Regions from separate parts of the Homo sapiens genome. Here regions 2, 3, 4 and 5 are each linked to region 1. Evidence: promoter capture Hi-C in 16 types of primary human blood cells and fetal thymus (Javierre and others, 2016). All regions are on one chromosome and are shown on one strand. Each heading gives the region's core, a stretch centred on a gene start or on the middle of the fragment in contact. The rest is flanking DNA. Distances are from core to core; before and after follow the strand shown. Region 1 holds the start of ZFAND5 (zinc finger AN1-type containing 5). Region 2 overlaps CEMIP2 (cell migration inducing hyaluronidase 2). Region 3 has its middle 9.0 kb from the start of CEMIP2. Region 4 holds the start of ALDH1A1 (aldehyde dehydrogenase 1 family member A1). Region 5 has its middle 49 kb from the start of CEMIP2.

The links. Contacts are between HindIII fragments. The CHiCAGO score rates a contact against its expected background, and 5 or more counts as called.
Region 2: a fragment that was not itself captured here is called in contact with the fragment with the promoter of ZFAND5 in region 1 in 1 of 17 cell types (neutrophils); the score reaches 5.1 in neutrophils.
Region 3: a contact is called between a fragment that was not itself captured here and the fragment with the promoter of ZFAND5 in region 1, in 2 of 17 cell types (total CD8 T cells and fetal thymus). The highest score is 7.1, in total CD8 T cells.
Region 4: a contact is called between a fragment that was not itself captured here and the fragment with the promoter of ZFAND5 in region 1, in 1 of 17 cell types (monocytes). The highest score is 5.1, in monocytes.
Region 5: a fragment that was not itself captured here is called in contact with the fragment with the promoter of ZFAND5 in region 1 in 1 of 17 cell types (fetal thymus); the score reaches 5.1 in fetal thymus.

What each region holds. Positions count from the first base shown.
Region 1 is chr9:72,363,847-72,366,656 of GRCh38, reverse strand. It overlaps ZFAND5 (zinc finger AN1-type containing 5), which reads left to right and starts at 1,449. Exons shown (of 7, transcript NM_001102420.3): 1 at 1,449-1,961. RefSeq lists silencers at 1,211-1,590, 1,601-2,430 and enhancers at 1,038-1,742, 1,743-2,446. The HindIII fragment of the contact is 8,298 bases long and covers 1-2,810 here.
Region 2 is chr9:71,756,658-71,759,467 of GRCh38, reverse strand. The region is part of intron 1 of CEMIP2 (cell migration inducing hyaluronidase 2); the gene reads left to right. Among named protein-coding and RNA genes, the nearest start is that of CEMIP2, 10 kb to the left of the region's middle. RefSeq lists an enhancer at 1,976-2,619. The HindIII fragment of the contact is 3,934 bases long and covers 1-2,810 here.
Region 3 is chr9:71,776,111-71,778,920 of GRCh38, reverse strand. No RefSeq gene overlaps it. Among named protein-coding and RNA genes, the nearest start is that of CEMIP2, 9.0 kb to the right of the region's middle. The HindIII fragment of the contact is 1,656 bases long and covers 590-2,245 here.
Region 4 is chr9:72,950,563-72,953,372 of GRCh38, reverse strand. It overlaps ALDH1A1 (aldehyde dehydrogenase 1 family member A1), which reads left to right and starts at 320. Exons shown (of 13, transcript NM_000689.5): 1 at 320-438. The coding sequence starts at 373. The HindIII fragment of the contact is 1,221 bases long and covers 788-2,008 here.
Region 5 is chr9:71,815,928-71,818,737 of GRCh38, reverse strand. No RefSeq gene overlaps it. Among named protein-coding and RNA genes, the nearest start is that of CEMIP2, 49 kb to the right of the region's middle. The HindIII fragment of the contact is 938 bases long and covers 953-1,890 here.

The sequences.
Region 1 (2,810 bases), core at 200-2,699:
CTGCTAATTTAAGGAAATAAATTGCAGTGGTCGTGGGACCAGTGACCCAAACTACTTAAATCTCTAATACATTAATTGATCACAGTAATAAACCCGAATTTGTTAAAAAACAAAACAAAAGGTTGTTATGCTCCAGGTACTTTGCTAACTGTGGCGGAGAACTGTTTGATTTGGCAGTGGTGGCTCAAGCTATCAGTATAGCATTCCCCCAAATACAGATTATAAATAAGGACCACCTGAAGCGCAATATGGGCCCCCCCCCACCCCCGCTCCCACCCCGGAACAACCAAAACCATATCCAGGGGAGATGCGTAGGAATCTTTAATCACCCCAGGTGATTTTTTTTCTGATTACCAACTTTGAGAAACACTGAAGGGACCTCTTCTCCATTCTATATGTGGCTAATATAAACCCTAAACATCATTTCTATGTATTCGTTAGACCGTTGTTTACTAGAAAATTTCAGAAGTCCTTTCCGACTTAGTAATTTTGTTATTTTGAGTTGAACTGAAATTCACTTGGAGCGGTCAGTTGAAAATGTTTTTTGTTTGTGCTCTGAAAAGGTTCCCAGTGTTCCGGGTAAAGTCATCCTTTCACCCATGGGGGACCTGTGCCTCGTGCCTGAACTGCCCGCCTAGTACCTCCCCCCTTGAACTTCCTCTCGCAAGCCTCCTCCTCCCGCTTCATCTGGGCCTCGGGTCTAGCTTGTTTTGTCCCTTCGCGGCTTTTGAGTAGAACATTTGGTGCTTTCCCAGTTCACGACGCTTTGCTGGAATCGTCAATTTCCAGGGATTTCACAGGCTGGCCAAAACAGTTTGTTCAGAACAGCGCCGCCGGGGCATTGGCAGCCCTGGGCGGCCGCGCGTTTCCTCACTCCGCACAACCACCCGTGACCTTGGGCGAGCGAACGCACGCCGCCAGCTGCGTCAGGGCCACGCTCGGGCTGGACTTCGGAGCTCAAAATGGGTGTGGGGAGTGAGGAGGTTTCATAAACAGAAAAGACCTCGAAGCCATAAGGCAATTCTTTTCCTTTTCTGGGGGTGAATCCTTACGATTCTTGGGGGAGGGAATGTCTGCCCAGGGCTGGAGACAAAGCGTGAGAACTAGGATGGCGAAAAACGGGTTTGAATGAGAAAATCCGAAGGAGGGAGGCTGAGGGCGGACAATTGGGTTAAAAATAGAAACGCATCCTCCACAGGACTCGCTCTTCCCAGCTCCACCCTAGGGGCCGACTGCCAGGCCAGTGGCTGGGCTCCGCGAGAAGGCACAGCAACCCGTCTCGGCCCCGCCTCCTGGACCTACTGACAGGGCACCGGGGGCGTGGCCTTGGGCCCGCGACGTCACCGCGCTCCCCGCCGCCGCCGCCGCCGCCGGGGTTTTCGCTGACGCACGGGTCCCGCCCCCTCCCCCTCTTTTCCCTCACAGCCCGGGCGCCGGGCGGCGAGTGCGTTAGTCGGCCGGGACGCGGAGCTGTGTGCATCTCCTACGCGGGCTCGCTCGCTCCCGGGAGCCGCGCAGCTTCCCCGGCGGTGGCAGGAGCGGCGAAGAGCGCCATCAGCGGGCCCTTACGGCCCCAGGCCTCGCGGCGCGCGGTCCGCTCGCCCTCCTCGTCCGCCCAACCTGCGGCCTGTGGAGGCGTGAGGCGACGACAGGCGAGCGCCTCGAGCAGCGTTAGCCGCTGCGGCCGCCGGTCCTCCCTCCACCTCCTCCTCGGCCCCCCCTCGCTTCCCTCCTCCCACTTCCCGAGCTCCGGCGTGTCCCGGCCACGCTCGACGCTGCTGCAGGAACAAAGGAAGACCCCGCGGCGGCGGCGGCGCCACCTCCGCCTGCTGCTCCGACCCGCTCCCGGCCCGCGGCGGCGGCACCAGGGCGCCCGGCTCAGCCTTCCCGGAGGCCTCGGCCCGGCCTCATCGTGCCGGCTTCGCGCGCGAACCCGGCTTTCGCATTTGGGACCCTGCAGGGTGAGTGATACGGGGCTGCGGGTGGGAGCCGGGCTCCTTGTTGCCGGGCCGGGGGCGGGAGTGAAGGGACCGGGGCGCCGCGGGCCAATGGCGAAGCCGGAGCAGGCCGCGGATGGCGGCGTCCGGGGGAGGGGAGCCCGCCCGCCAGCCCAGGAAGCACAAAGACGGAGGCGTCATCCTGTCGTCGTGGCCCGAGACCTGGCTCCCGGCGTCCCTGGCTCGCTCCACAGCACGGTCGGGAAACAATGCACGGCGTGCCGCCTCTGCGGGGCCGGCCTCTAGGCCGCTCGCCTCCGCGGCGGCGCCCGGCGTGGGCACCACGACCCAGAGAAACAAAGAGGCCGAGGCGGCGGCCGCGCCCCCTGCCCGTTGCAGCCCCCCCTAGCTCTCCCCTAAGAGGAGCCGTTCGGGGTCGGGGGTCGGGGGTCGGGGATCCGCGTGGGGCCTGCAGGCGAAGGGCTGGCCGGGCCTGCTGAGCTGCTGTTCTGCATGACTCAGTGGTTTTCGGAGAGGGCCCTGTTGGGCTTTATTGAGTGAGGCCTTTGCTTAGAGGGGGATGGGGTATCAGTGGGACCCGAACTTGTTCCAAAATCCATTGGAACATGGGGCCGGGGGTTCTCGGCGTCGTCTTTTGGGCTTCTCGACGTCGCTGCGTTTTTATCCTGAGATCCGTTTTCATGGAGGAAATGGAACACCTCCTTTGTTTGGTGCATTTAGGCTGATGAATGTGAAATTTTTTGCTCGCTTTCCACGCACTCCGTGGAGGTGTGTTTTCGGGGAAGGGTCGGATTATCTTTATTGATTGAGTGTCTCCTAAGGGATAGCATCTAAGGAGATACCAAGATAAAG
Region 2 (2,810 bases), core at 147-2,646, 610 kb after region 1:
ACACATTAAATATGTCTTTTCTCCTGTGAATCAAACTGCCTCATGGCAGGGATTTTAGTGAACTTTCAGGGAGCCAAAAGCCTATGACCCCCACAGTTTCTTATACTTTCGCTGTATTATATTTTAATAGGTTTTTGGGGCAGGCAAGATTTTTTTTTTCTTTAAGGAAGGAGATAATCTGAGTGATACGTGGTGTGAATCTAGAAGTCTGATGCATACAGATGTTTATTATAACAATAGCTTAACTTGGGAATATCACTTATATGTGTCTAAATCGATCAAATAGATAAAGCAGGTAGGGACATATAAACAATTAGGGGTTCTCAGTCCCTTGTCCTTTCCCTTCATAGGCAGAGGTTTATAATTAAGAGTTGGTGCATTTCCCTTCTACCTCTGAACATTGACCTGGCTATAATCTGCTTAATAAAAGTAAACAAAGATCTGTGTAAGTAAACTAACTGTGCAGAGTGTCTTATTTCTTGGAAACATGCCAAACAGTTGCAGGTGATTGTGACTCATACTGATTTTTGAGAGTTGAAGGAAAAAGACAAAAGCGCTGTGACAAGGGCAAAGAAATAATGGAGAATGCGCCTTGTGGGACAGTGTGAAGGCATGTCCTGTGGAAAATCTTCTATTTTAGGAAATCAAAATATTTTACCCCCAAATATATTTCTTTGACATATTTTGAGATGTCAGCAAACAGCAGCAAACAGAAGTCACCCTGCAAAGCAGTCTTTTATGGGGGAAATTTGCATCTATAGAAAATATGCATTAATGCAGCCAGGCTTTCTCTTGTCCGGTTCTAGGAAGGATTAATTAAGTCTGACTCCTTACAGATCTGAAAGAGACATTTGCCGTCTCTCCTCTCAGGGGTGCTACCTGTGAGGTTCGGTTCATCTACATAACAAGACCACCTTTGCTTGCCAAGCCTCCTTACATAACCTGTCTTACAGCTAAAACCTGATTTACTACTGTAACCTGTTTTCGGCCATGCTCTGAGCCTGCATTCTTTCTCCAATTTCTAGAAGGTATTTACACACTTCTGTACCCCACCAGGGGGTTGGGTTTTCATTCTGAAGTCTCCTGTGTATAACACATTAGATAAAGTTTTGTGTCTTTTCCCCTGTTGATCTGGCTTTTGTGAGTTGATTTTTCAGTGAACCTTCAGGTGGCCAAGGTCCTTGGCCCCACACCTGTTTAGAGGTCTAAGGGTTTTCAATTCTTTGAGAGTATGCTAATACACAATCGAGCAGATCTCTGAATGAAAGTTGACTTAATTGTTTCAACCATATGTCCGTTTTCTCATAAATAGCTGTATGTATAGACCTAGCATTTATGTTGAATTCTTTGCAGTGGTTGTTTTTTTAAAAAATGTATATTATCCTGTGTGCTCTGGGAATAGAATAGGTGATACATTATATTCTGCTAAACTACGTATAGAAAGATTCCTCCCTACCCAAACTCTTTGAAAACCTTTATAATAGTTATTTAAGTACATAATCTTCTTGAGAGTATTGGTCACACTTAATTATTTATTTGAAACTTGCGGAATTAGAGGACCTAAAAAGTCTGCTTTGCTAAGGTTATTTTCTAATTGAACACTTTTTTATGTACAGGGTATTTGTTGAGTTCACTGTTTGTCAATGGACATAATCTGAATCTAAAACAAAACTAAATGAAACGCCCTAACCCTGCTTCCCCTCAAACCAAACCAAACCAAACCAAACCAGAAGATCTAAATGGTGATCCCTGATGGTTATTCTTTGTTGTGTTCTTCTCCTGAAAGTAGGAGGTTGGGAATGTGGAATTATTAATTGAAAATTCAAGGCAGTTAGAATCTGGTTAAATATTTTATTAGGTCAAAAGTACAAATAATTATAGTATCATCTGTTTTCATGATAATTCATGCTCACTCCTCTTTTTACTTTTTGCTGCATGTTTTTACTTTTTGGGCATACTAGTGAATGTGTTAGATCTTCTAAGATCGTAATAAAAGAAAAAATGTTCTTAGCCAAATTTTGGCCAGTTGTACTGAAACTCTCCGAAAGCAAAAATTGTAACTTGACCCTTAGGTTGAGTATTGTTTAAAAAATTATGTCCTTGATCAAAAAAGAACTGACCTGATTAGATCGTGCCAACTTCTTGGCTCTTCCCACAAGCCTGAATCTTCCATTCAAAAATTAGTTTTCTTAAAAAGCCTAGGCGTGATTTGAGAGAGCTTAAATGAATCAAAAGTATTGTATTTTCATTAGTTGTTCAATATGAGGGGATGATGGGGCCAATATGCATTTCTTGGACTGTGTGGCTGTGGCACCTTCTCTGCATTGGGTTGGAAGGGCTAGATTATTTGGGGGACTGATGATATAGCCTAGGGGGCAAGTGTCCTCAACCACCATGTAAGTGATAAGTACCTTTGTCTTGCATATTAACATCTCAGCAGCTGAAAGAACACTAAAATCCCTTTTAAAGAGCTCCTACTAGTTTTGAACTGCTGCCGCTTTCTCTGTGTTGAGAAGCCTTTCTCTTTGATCACAGCATTGAATGGCTGTCAACATAACAAAATAAAGTGGAGTGGAATGTTTCTTTTTTTCTGTGTGCCTACTGCATTTCATAATGTGTAGTTAAAACTATTACAAAATATTGTGAAAGGTTGAATTTATCTAGGTAGTTTGCTGCTCTTTATCTTTAGAATTCCTTCCTGCAGTTGTTAATAATACCTTTTAGTCACCTATTAGTTTTCATACTAGAATTGCATTTTATAAGAATTAACACATAGACTTTTTTTGCTTTAAGTAGTATTGTTCTCAATT
Region 3 (2,810 bases), core at 168-2,667, 590 kb after region 1:
TTATTGGACCTTTATAACTTCTTTTGTTTTATTGTGGTATCTGGATAACGGTAGCTCAAGCAGAAATTATGCAAAAAGTTTGCCATTGGCATCTGCTGGGTCCACAATGTTTCAAGCCTTGATTCTCTGGTCCTCAAGCCTTAACCTGCCCTGATCCTTCCTTTTCTTTTTTCTTTAGACAGGGTCTTGCTCTGTCACCCAGGCTAGAGTGTGGTGGTACGATCATGGCCTCATTGCAGCCTCAACTTCTTGAGGATCAGGTGATCCTCCTACCTCAGCCTCTTGAGTAGCTGGGATTACAGGCATGTAACCCCACGCCTGGCCAATTTTTTGTATTTTTTGTAGAAATCTCACCATGTTGCCCCGGCTGGTTTCAAACTCCTGGGCTCAAGCTATCTGCCCGCCTCTGCCTACCAGAATGCTAGGATTAGAGGGATGAGCCTGCACCTTGCCCAGTCTCTCTTTTCTCATCATCATAACTTATCTCACTTTTTAAATTCCTGTCCTCAAGGTCAACATTCTTTAGATGTTAGCTTAACTATCACTTTCTTGGACACGTCTTTCCTGACCACGTCACCTTAAATAAGCTTTTTCACAATCCTGCTCCAACTCGTGTGCAAGTGCTTTTGAAGCCTGTGCTTACATCACGCTTCTGTTGTTACAGTGGCCAAAGCAAGTCACATGGCCAAGTTCAGAGTCAATGTAGGAGAGGACCTTAGTAGAATGTAAATATTGGGAAATGTGGCTTATGGAAGGCCATCGATGTAACTTTTATCCCACTTATTACTCCTAATTTTGTTTATTTCCCTTATTACTGTCTGTATAATCATGTGTTATTATTATTTTTTTCCCCTTGGCTCACTGCAACCTCTGCCTCCTGAGTTCAAACGATTCTCCTGCCTCAACCTTCCGAGTAGCTGGGACTGCAGGCGCGTGCCACCACACCCGGCTAATTTTTTATTTTTAGTAGAGTCGGGGTTTCACCATGTTGGCCAGGCTCGTCTCGAACTCCTGACCTCAGGTGATCTGCCCACCTCGGCCTTCCAAAGTGCTTGGATTATAGGCATGAGCCACCGCACCCGGCCGTGTTATTACGTTATTGGTTTATTTGTCAGTTTCCTTTTATTAGGGGTCCAAACCCCTACTAAATTGTAGGGGCTTTGCTGTCTTATTCAGCTTCCAGAATCTATCAGTGTTTGCTACATAAGACAACAATAAATATCTGTAGAATAAATAATTGAGCTCTGAGTTTTCTAAGCTGTGTTCAGCTCATCTACAAAAGACCCTGTGTTAAGACAATCATGGAAAGGGTTGACATTCCTTCCCTTCTTTTTAAAGCACCGTGTGTATTTTCACAATAGTTTTCTGAAAACAATGACTCAATTTAATCATGTAGAAAATTCTTATATCCAAATGGACTATAAAATCAGATTTTTCTACTTTTGTCATGAATGGCATTTTTCCATTGTATTCTTGAAAACAAAAAGTAGTTGATGATTTCTGTTAGTTTGTTTACATTATTTCAAGTAATTTTTTTCCAGCTTTATTGAGCTGGAAAATAATTGACAAAAGTATAATTGACAAAAGTTGTGTATTCAAGGATACAATGTGATGATTTGATATATGATACATTTTGAAATGATTACCACAATCAAATTAATCAACATATCTATCATATATGTCATAATCCAGTAATCCTGTTTATCTTTCAAAATAGTCTCATGTTCATCCCTTACTTTTTAAAAATTTTAGACATGGGGTCTTGCTTTGTTGCTCAGGCTGGAGTGCCATGGTGCTATCACAGCTCACTGCAACTTTGAATTCCTGGGCTCAGCCTCTCAAGTAGCTATACTACAGGTGTGCACCACCAAACCTAGCTAATTTTTTAGAGTCAGATTCTCGCTTTATTGCCCAGGCTGGTCTTCAACTCCTGGCCTCAAGTGATCCTTCTGTGTTGGCCTCCCAAAGTGCTGGGATTACAGGTGTGAGCCACTGTGCCCAGCTCATGTTCATTTCTTTAGAGAGAAGTGTAGAAATTGTCCAAAAAAAGATTTGTGTAATTGAGCTGGATTGATGATAACTTTTGACATGTTGTTAATTGTGTATTTTCAAATCCATGGTGAGCTCAAGTTTCCTAAAGAGCTCCTTTGTCATCCAGGTGGCCCAGAGGCTTCGCAGGGATTTATTTATTTTTTCTTGTACTTTAGTAAGTTTGTAATAATAACTATGGAAAATTTAGAAAGCTTTGATATAATATACTTTGGGGGAATTTTGACAGCTATGTATTTATGCATGTAAGGTACTCCTAATCTTGCTTTTCCTTTCTGATTATGTGCCTTTGAAGATTACACAGGATCCTGTCTTTCTAGGCAGAACAGGTTAATACTTCTTTGCTGGTTGCCTGGAAGGAACAGGAAGGAAGAGATAAAACCTTGGAGATAATGCATGATTTCAGGATGTTGGTATTATTTCAAATTAAAGTCTATATTCATAACCAGGTTTCTCAATTCTTATGCAAATTCACTATATCAACTCTTCTGGTACATATCCATATGTGAATATAATGAAAATACACTACATTTCTTGTGTGTATTTCTTCAGTTTACACAGATCATGTAATCCTCATCCAGCAAATTTATAAGATATTAGTGGTAATACTGCATATATTGTAGACATGCTATGAGCAAATCTTTTTTTTTTCTTTTTTTTAGACAGTCTTGCTCTGTCACCCAGGCTGGAGGGCAGTGGCACCATCACGGCACACTGAAGCCTTGACCTCTGGGCTCAAGCAGTTCTCCCACATCACCCTC
Region 4 (2,810 bases), core at 149-2,648, 590 kb before region 1:
TAAAAAGCATGAGAAGTCAAAAAAATAATAACTGGCCTTAGTGGCCAGAGCAGCTGCTGCATACACTTATCACAGGTTTCGGCTTTGTAAATTAATTCATCTGCAAATAGTGCACTGTCTCCAGGTACAAATTCGATGCTGGAGCACTGGTTTCTTAAGGATTTAAGTTTAAAGTCAAAGGCTTCCTGCCCTAGGTGTTACAAATAAGTAGTGTCGTTTTCTTTTTTTGCTCTGAGTTTGTTCATCCAATCGTATCCGAGTATGCAAATAAACTTTAGCCCGTGCAGATAAAAAAGGAACAAATAAAGCCAAGTGCTCTATCAGAACCAAATTGCTGAGCCAGTCACCTGTGTTCCAGGAGCCGAATCAGAAATGTCATCCTCAGGCACGCCAGACTTACCTGTCCTACTCACCGATTTGAAGATTCAATATACTAAGGTGAGTAAAACTTCTATTTTCTGCTTTGACTCGGGTTTGCAAAAACTGCATTTATGTAAAGCATTAAAGGTCAATTTAAGTAAACTTGTGTAAAGAGCCCTTTGCAAATATAAAAATAAAAGGCATGCAAAATGCAGGTCTCAGTTTAGTGTCCTGATCAAATATGATCTAAATCATATCAGACAATCTTTCATAAATTTATTTCTTAAAATATTTCCAAGCGAAAGGAATTCTCTTCTGTGTGAAAGGATTCTTATACCAGGATTCAGAGGACTTTACTAAGCACTTCTATTAACTTCACTATAGCCGGCATGTATGATAAGAGAGCAAAATACTCACTAGAGAAGCTTACTGGAAAGAACCAAACGAGTAGGAACAATAGAAAGCAAACAAGGAGAAAGAGAGCATACTGAAATAACATAACTTTCCAATATGTTTAATAAAATGAGTGTTAAAATAGGGGGACTTAAGTCTGATAATTGGATTCGAAAATCTTCAGATGGACTTGCATTATTTTGCATATTTTGGTGGGAGGAAGAAAAGCATTATTTCTTCAGCCAAGTTTGTTGCCATTGGAGCAGATGTGTAATTGTTAACTGATAAATATTTAGAGAAACAAGAGCAGGAGCTAGATCCAGACTTTAAAATCCGCAGCTGGGGGGAACTAGGAAATGGATCCTGCTTGAGTCGTTCTGAGAGTAACTCTGAACTTTGCCTGTTTCACACTGCTTTCCTGTCAGATCCTAGAACTCCAAAACAAACAAATGAATAAAACACAATCTAACCAAAATTACTTGAAGTTATCTTTATGGTGTGATGCAGAAAGTATGGTAAGAAATTAACTCTTGCAAATCAAGAGAGAGCCATTTTGCTGTCTGAATTAGCCAACAGAAAAACAAAGGGCATTATAATTTAATGATAAAGTAAAAGTCCCCACTGTTATATATTTATTTCCTCACTTGTAACCATGGATGGCTTTGAAATCCCAAGGTCTGTTGCATTTTCATTTTCATAAAGCACAACAAATGAGGAAGTTGCTCAGCTGATTGGCTCTTTTCCTCAGGAAAGTAGCAGCAGAGATCAGATTGTGCCTTTAACATGGTTGACCAGCAGCTATGAAGTGTATTTTAAGGTATTGTTATCACGAGGTTTTGTTAAAGAGGAAAGATTTTTTCCATTTAGTTTTACTACAAATGGTAGCATGAAAAATGCAGTAAATCCATACCGTCAAACAATTTACATTTGGCAAAGGTATGTCCAAAAGGTTGCAAGAGTCCAGTCTCCCTCATTTTCTTATTCCAAGTTTGTCATTCACAAGAAATTTCAATTGAAAGTGGGTACATTTAAAAATACATTTCATGAAGCTCAAAATTGTCGACAATGCTCAGATTATTGTATTACTATTATTAATGGGATTTTTTTTTTAATAATACTACCTAGGAAGATATTTTGGTAGTCTGGATGCCCCTGTCTCCCCACTCCTTTGGCTTTGCAGAAGTTTGCAAAGTCTTCCTTGTGTGTGTATTTCAAGGAAGCTCTAATGTAAATAACCTTCCTGCTAAATTAAGCTTCACTTAGTAGTCATTAACTAAGCATGTAAGAAGCGGTACTAGACAAATGAGATGGTCCTAAAAATCTAACATACAAGCACAGACCTAATGAACCCTTAACACAGAGAGATGATTTTGAGATTGAAACCTATTCACTTCGAAGTCACTGTGCAACAACTCCCCTCTAGGGAAAGTGACTGACCTAAGTGTCCAAAAGAAGGCAAGACTCAAAGAGCAGGCGTTTTGCTCTGTGTTTAAGAACTTTTCTGGGTAAAAATACTCCAAACAAGTCAGTGAATTTTGATTTCTCGTGCATCTTCTATATAAATCTGTTCTGCTCAGATAGCATTTTATTGTTTAATTTATTGGTTACAGCGTTTTCACACTTGGGAGGACGCCAGTTATGTATGTAATTAAATCTAAATGGGTGAACTTTTTCAAATGCCTTCGCATTTTTTGTTTACTATGTCCCAGTGAAGAATTGGATTGAATTTGCTCTTGCAAGAGGAGTTAAAAAAAAAAATGATGGTTATTAACTATAAAAAGTTCCCTGGTTACAAACCAAGTAAGCAAGGAGTTTATAGTGTCTGAGGAATTATCTTCTATTACCAGCCCCTAAAGTCTTGTGTTATTTTTCTGTTACTATTCTAATGTCCTTTTTTATTATTATTATAGCTAGAAGTATATTGGTTGTTAGGACAAGTTGGAGAGAACAGACAGGGTTGAGTAAAAAAAAAAATATTACAACTACGATAGAAAAGCTACATACTCTCAAGCTTGGGACTGCTTTTCACCCAAACAAAAGAATTTATTGATGCATAT
Region 5 (2,810 bases), core at 172-2,671, 550 kb after region 1:
TACAGGTGCATGCCACCACGCCCAACTAATTTTTGTTCTTTTAGTAGGCACTGGGTTTCACCATGTTGGCCAGGCTGGTCTCAAACTCCTGACCTCAAGCTATCCGCCTGCCTCAGCCTCTCAAAGTGCTGTGATTACAGGCGTAAGCCACTGCGCCTGGCCAAAACACGTTTTTTAATTAAAAAAATTTTTTTTCTGTAAACATGTTTTGTTTAAATCATCTGTAAAATGAAGTTAATAAAAGAACAAACCTGTTAGGATTGTTTTGAGGATTAAATGGATTAATAGACCTAAAGTGTTAGGAACTGTGCCTAGCATATAATTAGCATTCAATAGATATAAACTATTCATATTTTTCTTACGTTGTATTTATTATTCTCTGTCTTGACAGGGTCTCCACCACTCAGTTACCCAGTCCCAAAACTCAGATTCCACTCTTTTTACCCCATCCCTCAGAGACCACATGCAATGGGCAAAACTTATTTCTCTCTTGAATGTACTCTCTCCTCTCCATTCCCACAGACATACCCTTCATTTGATTTCTCATTAGTTTAGTTCCAGGCCTCTGATATATATTCCTGAAGATCTCCCTACTCCCATAAGAGTGACTGTTCTAAAACACAAATCTGATCATGTTCTCCCGCTAATGAAATCACTTCAATGGCTGTATGCGATTTACTCTCAAAGGGTTCAAAAATTACATATATATATATGGAAAGAAAGAGAGGGGGAATGAAAAATGGGGCAAAATGTTAACAGTAGATAAATGGTACACAGGTATGTTGTATAATCTTTTTTATTGTGGCAACTTTTCTGTACGCTTATATTTATTTTCAAAACAAAGTTAAACAAACAAACAAAATGCTTCACTGGCTTTCCTCAGAATAATATCCAAAGCCCTTACCTACTTCTCTAGATTTATCTACTCTCTTTCCCCCTTGATGTTTAAGCTTCAGCCATAATACATGATTTTACTTCATTACCTGTGAGCTTGCTCTTTTCCAAATTGAAATGCTGTGGTCTTTCCAAGTTGTCTACCTGGAAAAGTCCTGTTTATACTTCAATACCCACAGCATAATCCCTTCTCTATGATACCTGTGTTATTGGACTGAATTAATCATCTGCCTCCCTACCCGGGTTCACTGTGTTCCTCATTTTGACTCTTCTCCCCTTTTATCACATTGTGTAATTCATCTATTTCTTCTTCTAATCTCAGAGTTCTCCAGAACAGAGGCCCCATGTCTTATTCACTGTTGCATCCCCAAAGGCTGAAATCCTGATTTCTGCCCGCTCGTGTTTGCAAGTTCATTTTTAGTTGCCAGCTGTGCTGGTTTCTCACCTTCTGCCATTTGAAGTGGCCACAATGGCACTCAGCTCGCGGCTGCTTCCTGTTGTTCCCAGCTGAGCCTTGGCTCCTAGCTACTCTCCCTATTTTTTTTATTTTTATTTGTTTCCCCATGTGAAGGAAGTGAGCCCGTATAGACGCAGAGCTGAAATCTAGTGATCATCATTCTTTGTTGTAAAGCTCACCCCCACCCTTGCCGCTCCAGTGACCTCCTTCCCTTTATTCTAATTCTGTGTTTTAGAGCCAGTTGCTTTACATCTAGGAAGTCTCAGTTTTCTCCTCTAGGAGAGTATGCTTGAGTCCAACATTCCTTGTTAGAGAGGATTTTTTTTTTTTGCTTATCCCTCTTGTTCAGACAGTGCATACAGTTCATTTGATCTAATTCTTCGTGCTAATTTGTCAAAGTTCATCAAACATTAACAGAAACTAACTAGTTATTTCCTTAGAGTTATGTAAGTCAAAGACCAGCGTGCTGCACTCTTGGCGAATGTGTGCCTTTTTGGATTATGTTTTCATTCTACAGATATTTTAGGAAAACGTAAGCTTAGCCCATTTCTAGCAATAAATGGCTTTTCTAAAAGTTCCAAGTTTTCATTGCTATCTTTCAAAAATATTTGTTTTGTGACTAAGAAATAAAGGGAGCCTCTAGAGAAGAAAAATATCAATATTGGTTATAAAACACATTCACTCTGAAATACCAATACCACTTCACTTGTGTGTGAACATAAGAAGTATGACTCTGAAATGAATGCTTCATGACAGCAAGGATCATGTCTTTCTTTCTTGTTCAACACCCTATGTCCAGTGCCTTGAACAGTTCCTGACCCATGGTAAGCGCTCAACAAATATTTGGTGGGTGCCTTAGTGAAGGAAGTCAGCGAACCTATTTGGGAGGATGTCATAGTTCAAGGAGCTTAAATATATTGAAGCAAGTGGAAAACAGGATCCTGAATAGCTTCTTTGGGCCCTGAAATTTGTCTTAAGAATACCACATGATGTTTCTGCTGTAGCTATAATGAAGATGTTCAGCCACGCCTGGTCAAGGTCATCTCATGGTGGGTCGTCTCTAAATGTTTCTGGAATGGAAAGTTGTAACAATATTTTTTGGTCACTTTGTGTTCCCACTGTTGTACGTTGCAGTATTTTGAGCCAGAGGTTTTCTGGAGTAGTTTTACTGTAATACGGGGCTGAGTTACTGACAGCCATCCCCTTTCTTACCTGCTTTTTACCAACACAGTACAGTTTCCTATACCTATCAGTGATAGGGAAATGATACAGCTGACATTAGTACACATGAGTAACCCAAAGTTGTTTTGTGTTAATCTTCCAGGTCATATGCTCTAACTTTACTCATGTTTTAAATGATTTGCTGTTATTTTCTTAAAGACCCATTTTATTTTCTCTTTGAGTTCATGTTCTTTTTCTTGGCAGCCATGTCTAGATATTCTTTTTTTTTTTTTTTTTT